Linked DNA regions of Homo sapiens: region 2 is linked to region 1. The links are contacts of gene promoters, found by promoter capture Hi-C in human tissues and cell types (Jung and others, 2019). All regions are on one chromosome and are shown on one strand. The core of a region is centred on a gene start or on the middle of the fragment in contact, and the rest is flanking DNA. Distances in the headings are between cores, read along the strand shown. Region 1 holds the start of PAX9 (paired box 9). Region 2 has its middle 6.3 kb from the start of NKX2-8.

Region 1 (5,105 bases), core at 988-3,487:
AGTGAAGCATAAGAACGAAACCAATTAGGTGACATTTGAACTTCCTGCCTGAGCAAATTTGGCCTGATTACCAGAATCGGAGAATACTTCAATTTCCAAGGCGTGCTGGACTCCTCCCGGCCAGACTTCTCCCGGCCGTAGTGATCCCCAAGCAAGCTGCTCTGCCCACAGCGGAGTCTGCAGCCGGCAGCCCCAAGCAGGCTCGGGCCTCCCGGGCTGCGCCCCAAGTCCAGCCCCGGCCGCACTCTCCAAGTGAGCAAGCCGGGCTGAGGCTGCCTCGGCGCGAGAGGCGGGGGAGGGTGGAAAATGCGAACCATGTGTTGGGGATGGGGGGATGTTATGGGTCTGGTAGTTTGAGATGAGGCAGAAGACTGTGTGTGGCAAGGAAACCAGGGGCATGAGTTTCAAGTTAATGAGATCAGAACACCCCCTAGGAAGACTCCTTACGTTTCCAAAGGAAAAAGCCTCAGGTGGTGGGAAAGACAGTGTCCCTGAGGCTGCAGATACTGGGACCTCCGCGAGAGTGCGGGGGCAGACGCTGCACATCCACACGCCCAGCCTCTGAGCCCCTACCTTGGTCGGTGATGGAGCGGATGCCCAGGATGTCGGTGACGGAGTGCGAGGAGGGCCAGGTGCGCGGCATGGCCACCGAACCGGGGATGGCAGGCACCCCGGGTGGCGTGGGCACCTTGGCGGCCGCCGCCGTGATAGGGCTGGGGTACGAGTAGATGTGGTTGTAGGGCAGCGCTGGCTGCGGCGTCGGCTGGTGCTGCTTGTATGAGTCGTAATGACCCTGCTGGGCCAAGTTGCCGATCTTGTTGCGCAGAATGCGGCTGATGGAGCTCACGGAGGGCACATTGTACTTGTCGCACACGCCGTCCGCCAGCAGGCGGTCCCGGATCTCCCAGGCGAAGATGCCGGGGTCTCTCTGCTTGTAGGTCCGGATGTGTTTCACCACGGTGGGGGTAGTGACCCGGGGCTTGCTGCCCCCGATGGCTCCTGGCAAGATCGAGCCCGTCTCGTTGTATCGCGCCAGGATCTTGCTGACGCAGCCGTGCGAGACCCGTAGCTGGCGGCTGATGTCACACGGTCGGATGCCCAGTTGGGCCAGTTCCACGATGCGAAGCCGGATGGCGTTGGGCAGCGGCCTCCCGTTCACGAACACTCCTCCCAGCTGGTTCACCTCCCCGAAGGCTGGCTCTGCAAAATGAACACACAGCGCGCAGGGACGCGCACCCGCTGCTTGGGACAGCTGCCTGCCACTGGGCCTCCCTACGCATCCGGGGACTGGGCGAACGCACCCGTCCCCTACTAACTACTGGGGCTGTCCCCAAACCATATGGTCCCTGAACATAGCCGAACGGCCCCAAACCGTCACTGTCCAATCGGACCCCCTCCCTCATTCCTGCCGTGCCGGAGGCCCCTACGGCCAAGTAAAGTGGTGAGATGCCGGGCCTCTCCGAGCGTTCAAAAGTCTCCCGAAGCAGGGGGAGAAATCGGTCTTGACGCCTGAACGTGCTCCTTCTCGCCTGCTCCTCACTAAAGTCCTTGAGCCGCTCCCTCTCTCCACCCATCCCATCCCCAGCGTTCCTTCTGGAGACCCGGCCAGTTAAACAAAGTCTAGGGGAAGCTAGAGGGTGTTTTATTTGTTGTTGTTTGTTTTCTTTTCTTTTCTTTTCCTGTTTTGTTTGCATGTGTGCGCGCGTGTGAAACAAAACTTGGTTTGCTACTCGGGCTGAGGGGCTCGCTGATGCCACAGCTCCCTTCTCTTAAAATCAGAAAATGGCATCAACAGCCACCCAGTAGCCAGCGTTCACATTGAACTGCTGTGCGCCGCTGACCCTTAGCGTGTTCCTACAACTTGTAGGAACACGAGCAAAGTCAATAGAGAATGTGAGCGCCTAGTGGCGCGCGCCCTCGCGCTCCCTCCCTCCCTCCCTCCCTTGCCCGCTCGCTCCCTCCCTCCCTTCCCGGCTCTGACAGAGTCCCCCGCCGCCACTCACCCATTGCTCCGAGCAGTACACCAACCCGGCCCCAGTTCCGCACTCCCAGACAGAAACTTTCCGCACCGCCTCAGTGGCCCGGCCTGTTGCTATCCCGGCCGACCGCCGGCGCCTCCGCTTCTTCCCAGGAGGAGGAGGCGAGAGGGCAAAAGGAAGAAGTAAAAGGAAGTCTGTGCCCCGATGAAAGAGGCTTGAGTTCTGCATTTCAATCTAAGCAGCAACGTGGGCTGGGCTGAGCAGGGCAGGGCGGCTCCGTCTATCACTCACTGGGGACACGCCCTAAAAGGGGCGGGTCCGAGGGCAAGCTGCATGGTGATTGGTGCGGGTCGGTGAGCGACAGCGCAGTCCAGGAAACTCCTTCCGCTGTCTCTTTCAGGCTAGCTCCCCACCTGGGTGACTAAATACAATGAAAATGGGTGTTTGACATCTTCCCAGAAGCGGCACAAAAAGACAGCAAAATCAGGCTGGTAAAATGCTGAATAAACAAATGAAAGCGTTTGGTCTGAATGTGAATGACTCGAAGGGAGAAGGGGCCCGAGGAGACCTCCTCCGGGGAACGATGGACATCTCAGAATTGAAGTTAAGGCTATAGGTGGGAGGCGGGCGCCACCGTGCACAGGGGTGAGGGAGTTGTCTTAGCAAAATCTGTCATGCGGGCCTCTGGGGACTGTCAGGAGAGGATCTGTGTCACCTGCCGATTCTACCTCACTTCAGTCCATGCCAGGTGGCGAGAGCGCAGGTGTGAGAAGATAGGCCGGCCAAAGAAACCAGGAGGTTGCGGGGAGCCCGAGCCACAGGTGGGGGCCACTGTTAAGGCCAGGGAGGTTCCTCCTACCGCCAGCTTCCTGCGGCGACCCCCCAGTCCAGGTGGACCGGCCAACCACTAGCCACACAGGCTCGAGGCACGGGCCACGCCGTGTGCGGGGAACTGAACCACAGGCGGCTAACGCTAGCGCACAGCCCCAAGTCGACCAATTGCCAGTGCGTGGGGCACTCACTACGGAGCCCAAGGCTCTGCCACATTCAGCCACTGTCCTGGGCCCCTGGCCCTCGGTGGCAGCGTTTGTGAGGGTTCTCCAAACCAGCGAGCCCTCTCGAAAGAGTTTTGTTTAAATATGAAAGAGACTTAGTCCCAAGACAGTGGACACCGACGCTGCACATGGATGTAATTCCCTCGTCTTCCATTAAGCTCCAGAGGCCCTGTCGTTCTGCCTACTTCTGAATTTTCACTTTTATTCACTGTAAGTCTAATCTAAAGTGTACCGTATGCTTTTTTGCAGCCAAAGTTATTAATATTTGCAGTTAGGGTTGTGGAGAATGTGAATCAAAATAATAAACAAGAAGAGAAATATTTTCGTGAATTTGGGAGTTTGTACTGCTTGGGGTCGTGAACTCTGTTACTGCTACTTGACAATCCAGAAGGCTCCTTGTGCACACAGGATTCAGGCTGCTTCCCCAACAGTCCCCAGGGATGTGTGTGGCTGCGGTCTACACCCAGAGAAGCTGACTGGTCCCAGATCTCAGGTCAGTAAGTTGCAAGAACCCAGGAAAAAACTATGATCAGCCATGCTTCTGCAAAGGAACAGATCTCCAGATTCCCACTTCTATGGTTAGGATGCACTCTAAATTCAAAATTACCTAACAGAATGGAGGATGTGAAAGGTAAAGATGAACTAAAACACCACTCTTTAGAATCGGAATCTTGGGGGAAATCCCACAACTAGACATACTTGAACTTGTCCCTTTTTGTTGGTTGGTTTCAAATGTTTAAAATCTTCTTGAAGTTTGACTTGATAGCAATTTCAGCCTGGTCTGACCTCCAATACCTGTTGGGTGACATCGTGTGGCACCGCCTGGCATTTTTACACAAGGAGAGCCTTCGGAAATCTAAAGATTTTAGAAGCAGCAGCTCCTTCTTAAGGCTGGTAGATAAATTAGTTGAGACTTTGCCGCATCGTAGGGGAGCTTATGACTCTGCCTTAGGCTTGCGGGAGGGAATGAACATGCCCGGCAACTTGACCAGGAAGGAATCCTCCTCCCCCCTCACAGACAGGCAGTGAGTATCGACCTCTGCGCCAAATCTGCTCTACTTCCGTGCACCCAGGGAAAATTTGCAGTCTGCAGGGCTGCTAGGCGGGTACAAGGATGTTCGCATACGAACAGGCAAGACCTCATGTCCCGCGGGGGGTCTGGGGACTCTGCGAGAGCTTTAGCAGTTCTGCAGCACCAGCCTAGACTGGTTCAGAAACTGATATGGTTTAGAGCTCTGGTTATATGGAGGTAACATACAACTCCCTCTTGTTCCTACCAACTCCTTCAGCTGCCACACATCTTCCCAGTTCTCACATAGGTTCAATGCCATCTCTCCCTTTCCACCTGCTGAACTTGGCTGTGACCATGTGGCCTCAGCTGCTGCGGATCCCCTGGGCGTGCCAGGGGTAGCAACTCAGTGGGCAGGGGGCCTGTCCGCAGCTCTGGCGGCTCCCCGCAGGCCCCACTCATGCCGGCGGTTGCAGGTACTGGGTGCTCTTGGCATTCTCAAGAGCGCAGGAAGAGTCAATTTTAGGTGTTTTGGGCCACTAAGTATCCGCGGCAAGCCGAAGACCCCGCTCTGGGAGCAAGAGAAGCCGAAGCTGCAGACAGGGTCAGCGGGATCCCAGCAGAAGAGGGTGATGCTGAAGCCTTCCCGGGGCGCGGACCGAGTGCTAGGGCGAGGTAGTCAGCGACCCGCTGAGACCGACCGAGAGACGACGGATCTGAGGCAGAGAAAGAGGATGAAGGAAGGAAAAGAGAGAACACTAAGGTCTGGTCAGTCCCGATGAATGTAAGGATGCAGGACCTAGAACAAGAACAAGGGTCAGCTGGAGTCTGCCGCCTGGTTACACTGCTCACTCTGGACTCAGAAGATCTCAAAGAGATCGGAAGAATTTCGACTAAAAGGAGAAATTTAAGACCAAAACCAAAACACCAGTAAGGCCTGCAGCTGGCTCAGGCCAGGGAGAAGCCAAAAAGCCTTTCCCTAGCCGCGTCGAGGCCTCCTCCGAGGGGCGACTCGCTCTCTGGATAAATATTTACTCAGTGGGAGACTGGAAGCCGGGCCGA
Region 2 (5,105 bases), core at 1,288-3,787, 73 kb after region 1:
CCAACCTCCCTCTGTGCCTCCGTTTCTTCTGTGAAAGGAAGGGGTAGAACTAGATAAAGTTCTCTACAGCTCTGTCACTGATAATCCTAAAGTTAGTATAGGACAGCTCCAAGTTGGTTATATGGGGGTAAAACTCAGCTTCTCCATAAGCATCTCACTTCTCCCAAGATACATTATTATTACAGCAACAATTGCCACACTTGAGTACCTACTAACTGTGGGCAAGCACTATGCCAAGCAACCAAAACAAATATCTCATTAATCCTCATAATCCCTGTATGAATTTTTATTTCCATTTATACATGAGGAAACCCTGGCTCAAAGAAATTACAAAACTTGATCAAGGTCATTTAGGCACTATTGGGAGAGCCAGATGGCAAACCCAGATCTGGTTCTATTTGATCCCCAAATGTGGTGCATGTTGGAAAGAAAAATCAGGTTGCTTGTTATGGACTATTAACTATACTTGACTAGATCAGCCTCAGTACTAGCTTAGTGCCTGGTGCTCCTGAGTTACTTACCATATATTTGTGGATTATAATTTTCTCAAAATTCTGCCCCTTGAGAGACCTGCATGCTACTGACAATAAAGTGAGGTGTGTGGGCAGTCTTGTGGTGGGGGGTGGAGGGGGTTGTACATTTTGCATAATTCCATGACTCTAGTTAGTGATTAGCCACTCCAATGAACAGCCTTCCAGATCCACCAAGAGTGTGATCGCTGGCCACAGCAGCCGGAGTGCAGACCTCCTGACATTTTGGTCATACTTGGAAGAAGAAAATTGGCTGTGGATACAGCGTAGCTTGGAACAAGAATATGACCATTCCCCACCACCTTGGCTCCCTCCTGAGCAGAACTCTGGGTGGCTAGCCTGGCCCCCAGGCTCCAGGTCTCTGTCGGTCTCCAGAACTGACACGAGTCACCTTGGGTGGTCCCTCCCATGCCCATTGTGCACGTGCAGCTTTCTGCCTATTGACATTAAGGGATGTGCCCCCACCTTCCCTTTGTTCCATCCTCGATTTAAGAGACATTTGTTCTCACTGGCTTTTAACTGATTTTCAATCTGTGTTCATTGCTGGGGTAAGTTAACTTTTAAAAAAATTCGACTTGCAAAGTGTTTCTGTGCTGCCCAATTAGCATTGTAACAGATGAAGCTGTTTGGAAACAAATACAACTTAGACCAGATAAAGCCACACTGCTAGTCACTGAGATGCTGGAAAAACAAAACAAAACAAAAACCCCCAAAATCACATACACACACACACACACACACACACACACACACACACAACCAAACAAAAAAACAAATCACAACAGGATCCCTACATATCAGACTTTGTTCCCTACATGGACTTTTAAAATGTACAGGCCTTCGGGTCCCTTAATTGGCATCTGAACAAACCACCAAGCCCTTTCTCCTCTACACTTGGTGGTGTGGTACTCCAGAGGTGATGAAACTGACTCCCTGCCACTTGCCTTCCCTTTACCATCCTCCAACTGGTAAAAGCCCTGGCTGGCTGGAGATGGGGAATCCCTAAGCTGAGACAAGCACTCACCCTCTCACTTTCTCCTCCCTTCCTCCTTCCCTTCACCCTGTCCCACCCACCTCCCTTCAGTGCAAACTACCTCAGATTCAGTTAGAGACACTTGTAGGTTTCTCCCTTCATCCCCATCCCCATGCTACCCCTTAGGGATGCTCTTGTGATCAATCAGCTGCCTGGAGAATCAGGATCTCACTCCGACTTCCCTAGGATTTGAATAATAGAAAATTTCAATAACAGAAAAACAGTGTAATTCATAAAAGGAGATATTCATGTACTTTTCCTAATGGTTCTATAAAAGAGATGACTAAAATAATTCATGGAACTTGAGTAGTTTTTTATTTTTATTACAGAAAAAACCAGAAGGTTAAATTCACCAGGGATGACCTGCTAATGATCTTGGATAACCCCTGCATTCTGGCATCTGAGCTTTCACAAAATTTATCATTATAAAATCATTTTAATAATACGTAAGAAATAGAATGTCTAACTTTAGGTACATATTTATACTTTTGATTTTCCCCGTCTAAATCGGCCTTATAGCCCAGTCCTTTCGTGTAAGAAAAATTTTTAAAAGGAAGGTTTTGTTTTGGTTTTAAAGTAGCCAAACCTAAAGAAGCAACTACAATAGAATCTGTGACCATCTATTTCTTTCTCATACTACAAACTGACTGAACATATCCTTACTCCCAGTGCCCAAGAAAAAAAACTGTGTTTTCATTATGTATAAAAATGTGCACATCCTGATGGCATAGCCATCCAAGAATATATCAGTCGAGTTTATGTAAACTGACTTGACGTGAGGAGCTGCTAATGAAAATGAGCACTGGAAACACGCTGCTCATGGGTGGATGTGTCAAGCACAGATGGTCTTCACGGTGAGTTCATGTGGACCACGAGCAGAGGAAAGCTGGAAACAGACTAGCTGGAAACCGTGGGGAAGTAACCTGGGGTTGGTTATAAATCAAATGAGAGCTTGACAAAACGTGGAATCCAAAAAATGCAATGAAAGTTTTCTGAGATGATATCTTGTTTCCTCAGGTTTGTGTTACAAAGCAAAATGTTACATTTTAAGAATAAGCCAAGGACACTTTAGGATGGAGCTTGTTAACAAAAGGAATGTGGTCAGCATAGAAACAATTATGGGGCTTTTTGTTTGTTTGTTTGTCTCACTTAATTAAAGGCCATACCCGATTAAAAAATACAAACATGTATTAGGATGAATTTATTATCTTGGGGATACTGAAGCTATCATTTAAAAATAATCTACCTAAAGCACAGTTTTACTATACTTAAGTTGTGTTAAACATGGCATATATATTTTTGTGCCAGAAAGAATTTCCTTAGATAAAGTCATTTCTTAGTTGTTTCCTAACTTAAACAAGTTCAATTTATGGGTTTTAAGATTCAGAGCAAGGCAAATAGAACAATAAATTTCTCAAGAAATTCTAAACGCCCTTCTTCATATCCTGTCGCTAAACCTAAAATGCCCAGCGTGGAGCTTTGTCGTTTATATATTTGTCTGATGGATCCAGAAGTAGTTTCCATGGTAAGCTCCCTGTGCACAAGAAGCAGGGTGAGTGGAATGTCTCCTGCCAATGAAGAACTTTTCACTGACAGTGATAAAGGCCAGGAACCTCCTTCACACAAATGATTGAAAAACAGAACACGGAGGACATTTTTATTTTGTTTTGTTTCCTTTGTGTGGTATGTGACTTCAGTGCAAATACCCATTTAATCAAGAATACAAAGACAGCCACCTTTGCTGGTTAAGGGATTTCCAGAGGCTGCAGTAAACATATATAGTTCTTTTACTCTTTTTGTGGGGAAATTCCCACAAGCAGTCATTTCTTGCTTCTGTTGTGTATTTGTGCCACCTCTTGGAAGAGGGGAAAAGATTTTTCCAAGGGAAAATTAAGAGTAAACTAGATAGGATCTAGAAAAATTTGAAGTGTTTTAAAAACTAAAGCTTATCTATTGTCGTAATTTTTAGAATTATAAAGACTTTGGGAAAGAATATAAAAGCTACTCTCAACTGGAACTTTTCCATCCATGCTTATCCTCTTTGAGTTGATGAGATCAAATTGAACCTGTAGCTTCTAAGCTAGCACATGCTGTCTTTCTCTTTCACTTTTTACTCTTTCTTTTCTAATACCTTCTATTACAATGGACTCTCTTTCTCTTATTTAGGTCCTCTTCATCCTCCCCACTGATTTCTTCAATTCTAGGGATATCTCAGTCTATCTCGCCTTTAAGTCCCTCTTTAAGTTTTCCATCTTCCAGATAATCTCTTGTGACTGAGACTAAGTGTGAATATACGTTGTAAACATTCTCAAATGTGTAAAATATGAAGTGATATTTTTATTACTACTATTGTCGACATCGATAAGAGAATTGAACATCTGATTCTTTGGCCCTTTGAAAGACTGGGATCCCTGTCTTCACGGAATATTAACAAATACTTCTCCAGAATGATTGGTTTAGTGTTTTGTTTAAATTTCTGTCAAGTAAGACAGAAATAATACCTCACTTTAATGATGGGATTCTTTTAGAATTCCAGAGATGATCTAAGAACAAAGTAAAGGTATATTTTAAAAGACCCCATTATAATGCTTGGGCAATTTAAAAAATAATAACTGGCTTGAACTGAAGTGTTGATGGTTAGTTATAAGCACGCACTATGGGTAGGCCTATGTGAGATACTGGGGCTGAGATCATCGAATATGTTCCTGGGGTCAATCTACCCTGTCAGTGTCTGCATGTAGCATTAAATATGATTTAGGGCCTGGAACTTTATTATGTAAACATCAATAAGAATTCTGTGTTATAGAAACTACATCTATATCAGTTGAGCAAAGGAGTATAACATGGTACTTTAAAAAAAAGCTTAGACAAAAATAAGAGGTTCAGCTCTGGACAAATAAGATCTGACACCCCTCCTCCAAGGTGTGTTACTATTTTTATTCTGCTAACTTACATATCATGCCATAACAGCTATCCTTATTATACCATTGTAAGGCATAAGGAAGACTAGAATATTTAATAAACTAAAATTTAAACAGTTATTTGCTGGCTTTTTAGCAAATGGTAAGGATGGATATTTAATAAAATAAGTTTATTTTTCAATTAATTGAACCATTTTACTTCTATATATTTTTTCATGTACATACTTAAATAACTAGAGAAACATATTAGGAAAGAAAAGCTTTCCCTCTAGAGATCAAGAACAGTAACAAAGTCAATGTAAAGTCATTATTTTAAGAGACTGAAGGTAGGATCATTCAAATCTTGTCATTTGGCATTAAACAATAAAATCTAAAGCCATTTCAAAAATAGACTAAATTTCCAGCCTGAAAATAATTGCTGTTTGTTCCTTGTCCTGTGTGTATATATCATCGATATAACTAAGAAAGAATCACAGCCAAGCTTGGACTACTGTGAAGCAATTGATTATTAGCCATTAGAAGGGAAATGTTTACTTGTTTTTAGAAAGAAAGGCAAAGAGATCTGATTTTAAATGATGCCTATTCCTTACATCCTATGACCAATCAAGATCATCCACTTCT

What was found. Contacts are between HindIII fragments. The study calls those that stand out against the background at their distance.
Region 2: a contact is called between a fragment that was not itself captured here and the fragment with the promoter of PAX9 in region 1, in 3 of the 25 tissues and cell types used here (H1 embryonic stem cells, mesendoderm cells and thymus).

Annotation. Positions count from the first base shown.
Region 1 is chr14:36,658,992-36,664,096 of GRCh38, reverse strand. It overlaps PAX9 (paired box 9), which reads right to left and starts at 2,237. Exons shown (of 4, transcript NM_001372076.1): 1 at 2,004-2,237; 2 at 574-1,200. The coding sequence starts at 2,007. RefSeq lists enhancers at 237-747, 748-1,257, 1,258-1,769, a cis regulatory region at 2,534-3,046 and a promoter at 2,306-3,503. The HindIII fragment of the contact is 9,466 bases long and covers 2,153-5,105 here.
Region 2 is chr14:36,586,363-36,591,467 of GRCh38, reverse strand. No RefSeq gene overlaps it. Among named protein-coding and RNA genes, the nearest start is that of NKX2-8, 6.3 kb to the right of the region's middle. The HindIII fragment of the contact is 6,603 bases long and covers 1-5,105 here.